Linked DNA regions of Homo sapiens: region 1 is linked to region 2. Evidence: promoter capture Hi-C in human tissues and cell types (Jung and others, 2019). All regions are on one chromosome and are shown on one strand. Each heading gives the region's core, a stretch centred on a gene start or on the middle of the fragment in contact. The rest is flanking DNA. Distances are from core to core; before and after follow the strand shown. Region 1 has its middle 43 kb from the start of PPP2R2B-IT1. Region 2 holds the start of TCERG1 (transcription elongation regulator 1).

Region 1 (6,547 bases), core at 3,644-6,143, 520 kb after region 2:
TGGTAGAGACTCAGAAGGAAACAGTGATTGTAGTATAGGTATCAAGTGCTATGATTAATTGGGAGCTCCATGAAGACAGAGTCTCTGCCTTACTCTGCTTTATCTCCACCCAGTACCTCACCTATTGCCTGGCAGAGTGAGAATACAAATATTTATATATGCATGCATGAATAAATGCATGCACTGTGGTGGTGCTGGGGAACTGCAGGCAGGGTTGGGGGGCAGGAGCTAAGTCAGCTGGGAATGAGACAGAGAGGACAATGGAAAGGTTTCTGGGTCCTTGAAGAGGTGCTTGAACTGTGCTGAAACTGAAGAAGTTAGCATCAGTAAGCCAGGCAAGGGAAGAGGAGGATGGGAGAAACAGACAAATAGACAAGAGCACTGTAAGTGAGTTGTTATGCTGATGATGGGTCTGTGCAAGGCTTTCCAGGTTTGGCTGGGGGAACATACAGAAAGGAGAACCAGCTGACATACTAAGGAAGAACAAGGGAGACTAGAAGCAGAGTAGGGAGACGACAATGACAGAGCTCAAGAGGTCAGCAGGAGACAGATCATATTTCCCAAGCTAAGCATTTTGAACCTGACTCTGAAAGCCATGGAGGAGCCATTGATAGGTTTTAAGCACGGAAATGTCATGATCACTTTTAGTTGATTGCAAAATTGTAAACCCTTCTTTCCTAACCCTCTGTAGGGATGGCTGTGTTAGATAATACTACATTGTTTCAGGACTTAATGAGTAGAGGTCATCTACCTCCAGCTGTGTTCTAGACCTACCTGACTATAATTCTCCCTCCTAGGTTCTTACTCAGATTCCCTTGGCTCTATTGAGAGTATCCAGGATAGTCCCTAGTCCTTTTTTCTGCTACAAAAGGCATTTCATCACTCAGATACTATCTGGTTACATGTGTAAAGAAAAGACATACACATGCTTTTTTTTGACGGAGTCTCACTCTGTCACCCAGGCTGGAGTGCAGTGGCACAATCTCGGCTCACTGCAACCTCCACCTCCCGGATTCAAGCGATTCTCCCACCTCAGCCTCCTGAGTAGCTGGGGTTACAGGCGCAGGCCACCACGCCCGGCTAATTTTTGTATTTTTAGTAGAGAGCGGGTTTCACCATGTTGGTCAGGCTGGTCTCAAACTCCTGAACTCGTGATCCACCCGCCTCAGCCTCCCAAAGTGCAAGATCTTTTAAATAAAAGTCGCTCAGAGTTTGAGCAGGACAGAAGACAGAAGCACAGTAATTAGAATGGAAAACCATTAGACCTGCATGAAAATGGACCAAGCAATGTAGTCAAAAACCTAACCAAATTAGATTCTGAGCTCTGGTTAATGTGTCTTTCAGGCAGGGGATCAGCCGTAGATCCTAGATGACAGATTTTTACATATTTGAGGAAAAGTAGTAACTTTTAAAATCAAATAAAAAGACAGGCATGATTTCTTGCATGCTGAAACTGCAAGCCCTTTTTCGTTGTGGAAGGTACACCTCACAGCTCCTCCCTGATGCTTTAATTTATATGATTTATAAAACCAATGTATGCCTATTGTAAAATTCCAGGAATAGAGAAAAAATAATTTTAAGTAAAAATTATTCTTCATCCCACCGGAGTCAACCAGGCTTAACATTTTTGTACAACTCTTGCCCCAGCTTTTATCCTCTTATGAAAACAATATTATTGTTATTACCATTGTTGTTTAAAGAAATATTACCTTAGTTGTATAATTTGCTTTTTTCCAGTTATACTGTAAATATGTATTTGCATTATCATTTTTAAAGCACACAGAGTATTCCATTATGCAGTTGTACCATAATTGTATCAGTATCATCTTCATAAACACTTAAATTGTCCCGATAACAGCAACAAAAACGCTTAGGAAGGGGGAAGGCTATGATGAACACCAATGTAGGTAAATCTTATGTTTCTATGACTATTTACTTAGAATAAAATTCAAGAAGTTGAATAGCTGAGCCAGTGGCATGCATGTTTAATGCCTGGGCTACATGCTGATGAATTGTCTAGAAAGATTGTATTCATGTACTATTTCACCAAAAAAGTGTCTATTTTGCTCTATCTGTAACAACTTTAAATATTATTTTTGATTCTAACTTTTGCCTACCTGATAGGTAAAAATTAGCACCACATTGTTATTTTAATATTTTGTTCCTTTAATTACTAGGAAGCTTGAACACCTTTCCATATAACTATCAGGTGTGTATTCTTTTTCATAAATTGTACTTTCTTGTCCTTCCTCATATTTGTTTGGTGATGCCTTTTATATGTTAAGAGTATTAACCCATTGAAAACCCATTTTTATAGCCTGAAATTTGGTTCAGTCATCTACAGAGAGCATTCAGCCCAAAATCTGCCCAACATCAGTACTGGATATTTAAACTTAAGCAATCCATAGTCAGGAAGACACTGGTCCCCCATGGAGGAGATTTTTTTTCAAAGGAATGGATCATAAAGCAAAAGGGATTTTCTATGGTGTCCCTATTAGTCAAATAAAGTGGTCTGACTCACTTTAGCTTTGGCAATTCCTGGTCATTGCTTGTGTGTGTCCCTAGAGAACAGAATGAATTAAGGAGTCACCATCTAAGGTGTTTTCAACAGAAAACACTTTGGCAAAAGCTTATTTAGCTAGTCTGGGATTAATTTTCTTAACCAGTTAGAACTTCAAAAAGAAGGGAATGAGTTAATAAACTCTTCGCAACATCCCTGCCCCCATACTCCCATCTAGTATGGTCTTCTGAGTCTGCACATGGCTGGGGCTCTTCTTTCCACACGTGTACTCTGAGCCCTAGAAACACTTAGGCTGTGAAGCACAATACACTTGTTTTTTTCTTTGGGTCAGTTCAAATTGATCATGCCAACTCTTCCCATTCCCTCCTCTTTGCTTCCAATGTTTCCTTTCTCTTTTGTTTTTCAGAAGAAGGTAGAAGAATTTGGTAGACAGAGAGAGAGAGAGAAAGAGAATGTGTGTGCATTAAAACCAGACAAGGAAGCGGCTGGGTGTGGTGGCTCATGCCTGTAATCCTAGCACTTTGGGAGACCAAGGCGGGTGGATCACGAGGTCAGGAGTTCGAGACTAGCCTGACCAACATGGTGAAACCCCGTCTCTACTAAAAATACAAAAAGTAGCTGGGCGTGGTGGCACACACCTGTAATCCTAGCTACTCAGGAGGATGAGGCAGGAGAATAGCTTGAACCCAGGAGGCAGAGGTTGCAGTGAGCCAAGATCACGCCATTGCACTCCAGACTGGGCAAAAATAAAAATAATAAAAAAAAAACAACCTTAAAGCAAAAAGTCCTTGGAGCCAATACCAATTGATGACCCAATCAGAGATACCATTTCAGAATTACAAGTATAACCTTATTTGATTCTCATCACCCTCAAGTTCGCTGCGGAACTTGCCAAAGGCCCAAAGCTAGATAGTGGCAGAGCTGGGACTCTAACTCAGGTCTCAATGACTTCAAACTCATTTTTATGAGATTATGTGTCTCATAAGTCACCATGCCTGCTACCTCTTGTTTTACAGGTGAATGAACAAAGGCCCAGTGGACTGAGCAACTGGCTAAGGCACTCAGACTTTCTTAGTGGAGCTGAATAGAGAACACAGGCCCCTTTACTGTGCTGACTCATCTTTGAGATGATGATGCAATTCAACAAGAAAAGATTCAATGTGTACAAATTGGATTGGGGCAATTATTCAAGAACAAATTGTATAAAGTGAGCTACACCTCAAGCTCTTTGCTTTGCTTCCCATTTAGGGGCATTTCCTATGAGTCCTTATACAACTCTCTGTGGTGGTTATAACCTGGTATCAAATCAAATCAAAATCAGAATCAGTGCAGACAATCATTGCATGAGATTTGCTGTCTTCATGGAGGTTTTGTGTAGTGAAACATTGGGCTGACATCGCCTAGGGAATTTCATGTGAAAATTCCTCCCAAACATTTTTATTCTCAGAGTTCCTCTTCTTAGCACCACCACGGAGTAGGGATCTGGAGGGTGAAGTGAGGTTTTTTCTCTCTTTCCCCTTCTCCTGTCTTGCTCTCTGCCTCACCACTCACTGGCTCCTACCTGAACTTCCAGGTTAGTCCTCCACTCACACTTGGAATTTCTTATCCTTTTGCCCTGCAGAACACTTAATTGAACATATTGTGTTAGTTGAGCATTTCTTTGGGGTCCCAAGTTTTTCCCCAAGGGGTTTATCAGCAATTATTCTGAACATATACGGCACCTTCAATTTCCTGTCTTCATTTTTTTTCCCATAGATAATGTTATTATCCCAATTTTTACTAATGTTATTATCCCCATTTTAAGAAGTCTGAAGGTCAATTAGAGTAACTTGCCAAAAGTCACACTGCTAACACCTTGCACAGCCTAAATTCAAATCCATATTGGTCTGACTTCTAAAATTCTGGCTTTGTTTAATGACATTAACTCCCTAACTCATTGTATTAAACTCTTACTATCTGTGCTAATTTCTCAAATATTGTATAAAAGGAGTTGTCCTCTAAAAAGAACAATTGTAACAGCTTGACCTTTCAGGTCTCATTCAGAAGGTTCTTACAAAGACAGCTCTCTATTATGAATAATTTACCCTTCTCAAGGCTGAATTTCCTCTGATGATACTTGACCTTCTCCAGGCATGTAGGCCATCCAAATGTAGCCCTTAAGTCAGCTGGACACTGGGGTTCAAAGATAGTTTTGCCTTGTCCATTGCTCAGTGAAGCCATTCCTAAGTATGCTCCCCAAAACATTTATCCTATTATCCTCTTAAACATGAGATTCCACGGCTAAATACGTCAGAAAACTGAGAAAACAAAAATTAAGTTGGTGTTTCCCAGTTGCATTCCATTAAACACTGTTGTGTGAGCTGTTCATAGATCTGACAGTCAAAGAAAAAAATGAAAAAACAGTTTGAGGTTAAACAATTTTGGCAAAATATAAATACTCTAATTCCCTTTTGGGAGATTTATGATAAACATTAGCATATTAACGCTTCTGGCATGTCCTGCTAAATAGTTTGACTTGGTGCTTCGCAGATTTTTTAACCTTAGGATATTTTTTTTATCTTGCAGGACCAGCCCGCAACAGCCCACTCTAGAAAAGCTTCTGGTTTAAGTTCTCAGCTCCTGTATTTATTTTTATTTTTATTTTTATTTTTATACGGAGTCTTGCTCTGTCACCCAGACTGGAGTGCAGTGGCATGATCTTGGCTCACTGCAAGCTTTGCCTCCCAGGTTCATGCCATTTTCCTGCCTCAGCTTCCCGAGTAGCTGGGACTACAGGCTCCCGCCACCACGCCAGGCTAAGTTTTTGTATTTTTAGTAGAGACAGGGTTTCACCGTGTTAGCCAGGATGGTCTCGATTTCCTGACCTCGTGATCCACCTGCCTCCGCCTCCCAAAGTGCTGGGATTACAGGTGTGAGCCACCGCACCTGACCGGCATCTCCTATATTTTTAAGGGAGTTGACAAAGGGTCCTCTTTTGGGAATCTGGGCCTGGTCCTGCCATCTATTATTTGGGTGACTGTGAACAAGTCACTCCTCTCTGGGGCTCAGTTTTCCCATCTGTAAAATGAAGATAATATACCATTTGTCTCTAACTTTCCTTCCAATTCTAGCATACCATCACCTAAACATATGGAATTGATGGGGCTACACACCAGAACATCATGACAAACTGTGTGTTTATATTTTCTTAATCTCATCCTCTTAATTGAGGCCCAGAGAGGAATAACTTACTCACAGTCACTCAGTTAGTTTGATGGCAGAATCAGGCTTAGATTCCCAAAAGAAAATCATCCACCAACTCCCTTCAAAATATATAAGATGAAAATTTAAGCCATATGTTTGTTTCCTCCAGAAATAAAATAATAATATTTTTCAAGCTATAGAATTCTTATACATACACATAATTTGTCCCTATCTGCCAGTACATCATAGAAGGTATTCCCCAGAATCACACTATCATTTACTTGTTCAGAACGTTGAGGTTTTCTCTGATTAGCCAGTTTTCAGGATAATGGGAAAGTGCAGAGAGTGGTTCAGGTGAACTGCAGTGGGACCTCAGGCAAGCAACTTTCCCTCTCTGTGACTTGTTTTTTTAATCCGTGAAAAAGAAAATAATGACAGTGTGCCCTCCATTCCTCTAAGATACCTTGTCAGAACTGTCAGTCATAGTCAGAAAACTCTGCTGCTATATGCCTGCCCTGTCCTGAGGTATCAGCAGAAGTGTCGCTGGCCCCGCTTGCTTTGCGTCAGCTTCCAGGTGAGTGCTGCATAAATCCTCCATTTGGTAGTATGAATGCTAGTATTATAAGTACAAATATAATGCCCTAATATCAGAGATAATTTACTTTGCACTAATGCACTTATCTTGATAATAATTCTTCTTAAAATCCATAGCAGGAAAGCATGATGGTTAATAGCTAGGCTCTGACATCCGATACCAGGTTTGAACCCAGCACTGTTACTTACCAGCTGTGCATCCAGGCAAAGTGTTACTCGCTGATCCTCAGATCCTTCATCTATAAAGTG
Region 2 (5,715 bases), core at 2,034-4,533:
ATATATACATATATACACATATGATTATCATTACATGTGATAGATATACATATGTATATACTTAATCTATTTAAAAGATTATACTATAATATAAATATCTTAAAGTATATTTAGATAAAAATAACATAATAAAAACTATCAGATAATAAAATTTTTAATACCTGCAAGGAGTTTCTTCAACTGACAGTTTGTTTTCATTTTTTATTTGAGATGAAGTCTCACTCTGTCACACAGGCTGGAGTGCAATGGCGAGATCTCAGCTCACTGCAACCTCTGCCTCCCAGGTTTAAGCGATTCTCCTGCCTCAGCTTCCCAAGTAGCTGGGACTATAGGCACGTGCCACCATGCCTAGCTAATTTTTGTATTTTTTCAGTAGAGACGGGGTTTTGCCATGTTGGCCACGCTGGTCTCGAAATCCTCAGGTGATCCACCTGCCTCGGCCTCCCAAAGTGCTGGAATTACAGGCGTGAGCCACAGCGCCCGGCCTGTTTTCATCTTTTATATATGCTAGTGACTTATTTTCTATAAGCTTTCTATTTTGAATCTTTTTTTAGTAGGAATTAGTTTGTAATGAGCCATCTATACCAGTATTATTTTCAGAATATTGACCAGAACTTGGGGATACACACTGATGTTGAAAAAGGGATCTAACTCCCAACTTTTAGTCAAACTATAGTTTGTTCAAATGCCACACCTTTTTTTTTTTCTTTTTTAAGACAGTGTCTCACTCTGTATCCCACGCTGGAGTGCGGTGCTGCAATTACAGCTCACAGTAGCCTCGACTCAAGTGGGCTCAAGCGGCCCTCCCACCTCTGCCTGTCAAGTAGCTGGGACCACAGTCATGCACCACAATGCCTGGCTAATATTTTTGATTTTTTGTAGTGGTGAGGTCTCACCATTTTGCTCAGGCTGGTTTCAAACTCCTAAACTCAAGCAGTCCTCCCGCCTTGGCCTCCCAAAGTGCTGGGATTACAGGCCTGTGGCACCACACCCAGCCTCAAATGTCACATCTTTAACAAAATTTTCACCATGCTCTCCTCCAATTACTCATGCTCAGAACTGTGTGAAGCCTTTATCACAATTTATCATATTTAATTGATTTTGAATATTTAACTGGAATTCAGTGTAGAATGGTGTTTTTGAATTAAAATATAATTCACATACAATAAAATTCACCTTTTAAAGTATACGAGTTGGCTGTATGCAGTGGCTCACACCTGTAATCCCAGCACTTTGGGAGGCCAAGGTGGGCAGATCACTTCAGCTCAGGAGTTCAAGACCAGCCTGGCCAACATGGCAAAACCCCGTCTTTACCAAAAATATAAAAAATTAGCTGGATGTGGTGGCGGAGGCCTGTGGGAGCTACTTGGGAGGCTGAAGTGTGAGGATCGCTTGAGCCTGGGAGGCGGAGGTTGCAGTGAGCTGATATCATGCCACTGCACTCCAGCCTGGGTGACAGAGTGACACTCCCTCTCAAAATAAGTAAATAAATAAATAAATAGTATAGAATTCAATGGGTTTTAGTATATTCACAAAGTTGTGCAACCATCAGCGCCAATTCCAGAACATTTTTATCATCCAAAAAGACATTCCATATCCATCAGCAGTCACTTCCAATTCCTCATTCCCCTCTACCTCCTGGAAACCACTGTTCTACTTTCTGTCTGTATGTATTTGCCTGAAATGCAATGCAATTTCATCATATTTCATGTAAATGGAATCATACAACAGGCGGCCTTTTTGTATGTGGCTTTTTATGTCTGAACAATATTTCATTGTACAGTTATACCATGTTTCTTTTTTTTTTGAGACGGAGTCTCGCTCTGTTGCCCAGGCTGGAGTGCAGTGGCGCGATCTCTGCTCACTGCAAGCTCTGCCTCCGGGGTTCACGCCATTCTCCTGCCACAGCCTCCCGAGTAGCTGGGACTACAGGCGCCCGCCACCACGCCGGGCTATTTGTTTTTAGTAGAGACAGGGTTTCACCGTGTGAGCCAGGATGGTCTTGATCTCCTGACCTCGTGATCCGCCCGTCTAGGCCTCCCAAAGTGCTGGGATTACAGGTTTGGGCCACCGCGCCCGGCCTATACCATGCTTCTTAACCATGCATCAGCTGATGGTCATTGGGTTGTTACAATACTTTTTGGCTATTATGAATATTGCTGCTGTGAACATTTGTGCACATGTTTTTATGTGGATCCAATTATTTAGGCTTACAGTATTTAAGAGTGCTGCTTTGCTACTACGCTGACTGGGGTTAAGACCAGGCTCTGCTATTTAGTAGATGTGTGACCTTGGGCAAGTTACTTAACTTCTCTGTGCCTCAAGCTCATCTACAAACAGTGACTATGTTACCCACCTCCTAGCAATTTTTGAATCTTAAAAGAGTTAACGTACCTGACATACTTAGATCCGGGTTTGCTACATGGTTAGGTCCAAGTAAAATTTATCTATTAGTATTATTTTAATATTTTTACGACTTTAATAAAAGGGCTCATCTTCATTGTGCCTTTGAAACCCCAAATCCAAAACTTTTTTTTTTGTTAATTAGAAAAACTAAATAAATATTCAGAATTGTCTGGTATTCTGGGTGTGCTAATTTCAGACAAGCACATTTTGAGATCGAGGGAGACGTGGTTAAGCTGTAAATTGCAAAGAGGCTTGCCTTCGCCAATTTACCTTTCTTAATGCAGCAACTTATAACACCTATTGGCTTGCAACGGTTTAGTATAATTTGGGAGGTATTCTTGTAATTAATAATATATTATTTAATAACATGGATATAGAGCTGAGTGGTGACTTAAGACTCCTGCTACTGTAAAGCTAGGAAATAGCGGCTTTCCACAGCAACTGTGCAATCGGTTTAGGCGCGGCCCAGGTCGATTTTGATTGGCTTGCCCAGTGGAAATGCTCTCCGCCTGAGCTACTACTGGCCAATATGGCTCCACAATTGGCTCTCCTGGAAGCCGACAGACACGTGGCTACCGCAGGCTGAGCCGAACTTGGGAGGACTTAGTTCTGCTTACCGCGAGAGGGCGCCGGCGGTTCCTCACTGCTAAAATCTCATTTCCCATAAAGCCCCCGAGTCACCAATCAACTGGCTGTCTTCATACCGCTTTCAAAGTCGGCGGGCGCCTTGCCCAATAGCAAAGAACATATCGCCCCCATTTCGAAGATTGATGGAAAGTTTGACCAACCGCATCTCAGACTTCTGCTGTCTCCGCCTCTCTCGTTGGGGATTGACGATTTTTCTAGCCAATAGGAGACGTCGGGTCGGCGGGTGGATGAACGCGGCCCTCTGTAATGGCGGAGCGTGGCGGGGACGGGGGCGAGAGTGAACGATTCAACCCGGGGGAGCTCAGGTAAGGAACGCTGCCCTCCTTCACATCTCTGCTCACGAGAGCCCCAGAGGCTAGACGCTAGACCTGCCATGTGGAGATCCGGGGCGGACGGTGGGTAGCGGAGCCGGGCGGCCCGGGCCGGGACCGCATGGGGTTTAAGAAGGGGGAAGGGGAAGGTGGCTTGAATGAGAGCCGGGCCCGGGCTGGGCCAGGGCCTCCTGCGCGTTCCCTGGCTGCTTCCTAGTGCTTTCTTGGGGCCTCGCCGCCTCTCGCGGCCTGCAGCCCTCTGGCCGGGCGCGGTGCTCCCGCCTTTGGGCCCCGCCTCAGCCGCGTGTCGCCTCCGTCTCGGCCGACCTGAGTCTGTCCCCAGGCCGCGCTCCGCTGCGGGCCTGATTTTCCTCATCGACGTCTCTGCACTCCGCAGTTACTTTCCCTGTACCCCTCGCCACTTCTGGCTAAGCCTTCTCCACGCCCTCCGCGGCTCTTTGGGCTCCCCACGTTTGCCCTTTCATTTCATCCCCCTCATTGCTTGCCTTTCTTAACTTCTGTGGCTTTTCTTCCTTTTTTCATCCCTTTATTCCTTATTATCCTGTAGTTGTGAGTAACAACAACAGTAGCAACCCCTTATTAGGCACTTACCGTGTGCCAGTAAACCCTTTACTTAGGTTTGTCTCATTTAATCCTCACAACCACCCTTTGGAGTAGTTGCTATTAACATTTTGCAGGCCACAGACCAGAGGGGTCTTCAGTTGTTACTCGCCCATCTTACAGGTGAGATAACAGCCTCGTGGAGGTTGAGTCAGTAGAATAAGATTGCATAGGCGGATTTGTGGCTCCAGGAAGTGGCTTGAACTCAGGCAGTCAGGTTTCAGAGCCTGCAATCCCAATTGGCGTTCTATTCGTCTACTACTCATGCCATTTCCTTGAACAGTGCAGTGACCTTTTTTTCCCCTGGAACCTCAGTGTCTATGAGTTTGTAATTAAAATTTGGTAAAATGAGAGTGACCTGGAGAAATCTTTTGGTCAGTGGTTTTTGAGGAAAAGAGGTATTATGCTTTATGTGTATTTGGTACTTTGGTTTTTTTCTGTATGGGAGAAATGGCATTTCAGATGTTCAGCTCCCATTCTGAATTGTGCTGTTGTCAACGTTTGAAAATGAAAAAGAGCAGGGTAGATTATGAAGACTCTGTTGATACTGTCTTGAACTTAAGATGAAATTGTGTAAGGAAATGGGTATTGTTATTCAAGGTTTTAGAAGAGGAAAATGCCTTTCAGATTCTGTATGGTCGCACACACAAATCTCCACTTTGGCAGAAATGAAATTTTGTTTTATTTCAGAGATGAATCTGAAATCCTTTAAACTCCATATGTATACAGTATTAATGAGTGATCAAGGTGAATTGTCAGCATCTTTAAATATTAGCGATGCCAAGTTTATTCCTGATTTCGATCTTAAAGGGAGGTTACTTAGCTAGTTTCAGATGGATTTATTAGGGAACATTCTTTTGCATTTTAGAAAGTATCTTTCTAAAGCTTTAAAAAAATCCAAATGGCTTTATTAATAGTCTAGACACTGTTGCACAACTGATTTGAATAGAGCTTTAATTTGCAAATGAATTTGCCCTGTTGCAAATATTTTATACCGTAGCCTCTTGGATTGGAAGTTGCTTGCAGAGCATACTGTACAGATCTTTATTTTAGCATTTCTCATGAAATTAGGTGTGTATGTGGCCTCTTTGATGGCAGAAGTTGGGGCTTAATTTTTGCATTATATTTGTAACCTGAATGTACTTCATGGTGTGTCTGTCATAACCGCCTGGCAAATGAGATGTTCTGTAGTTATGTTGTAAATAAATGAAGATAGGAGATTTAAAGATACTTCACTTATTGGGCCGACATTTATTGTGTGCTACATGACAGTTGCTGACCTAGGTGCTGGTAATAGTGCCCTGAACCAGACCGAAAAAAGAGGTTTGTCCTGCAGGAGCTTCCAGCTTAAGTAAGAGCCATCTAAATTGTAAATGAAATCAACCACATCAAATGATTAAATCTGCCTGTAAGTGTGAAGTGACTTACACAAGGTCACTGGGTAGTTGGCAGGGTCTGGACTAAACCTCAGGTCTCCTCAATCATAGTTTATACAATTTGCCCCCATATATCGGTAGCATCTTTTTATTTCTTGCCCCTCCAGTTAAAGTATTGTCTTTAGCATTGGGGAGATTGCATATCTGGATAGAGAACTTCTATTGTAGAAAAATACCTTATGTTTGTATTTCCATGATGTTCTTGTGAAATATTTTTGTTCCTTCTATTCATGCAAGTAGGCTTTTGTTTTTCAGAAAGGTTGTAAGTGGTAGGAATGCAAATCACAATAGAT

The links. The method cuts DNA at HindIII sites, captures the fragments that hold promoters and counts their contacts. A contact is called where the count stands out against the background at its distance.
Region 1: a fragment that was not itself captured here is called in contact with the fragment with the promoter of TCERG1 in region 2 in 1 of the 25 tissues and cell types used here (dorsolateral prefrontal cortex).

What each region holds. Positions count from the first base shown.
Region 1 is chr5:146,959,373-146,965,919 of GRCh38, forward strand. It overlaps a transcript of PPP2R2B not described here. Among named protein-coding and RNA genes, the nearest start is that of PPP2R2B-IT1, 43 kb to the left of the region's middle. The HindIII fragment of the contact is 4,977 bases long and covers 2,406-6,547 here.
Region 2 is chr5:146,444,050-146,449,764 of GRCh38, forward strand. TCERG1 (transcription elongation regulator 1) reads left to right here and starts at 3,284. Exons shown (of 23, transcript NM_001382548.1): 1 at 3,284-3,359. The coding sequence starts at 3,301. RefSeq lists an enhancer at 2,947-3,654 and a silencer at 3,573-3,652. The HindIII fragment of the contact is 9,033 bases long and covers 156-5,715 here.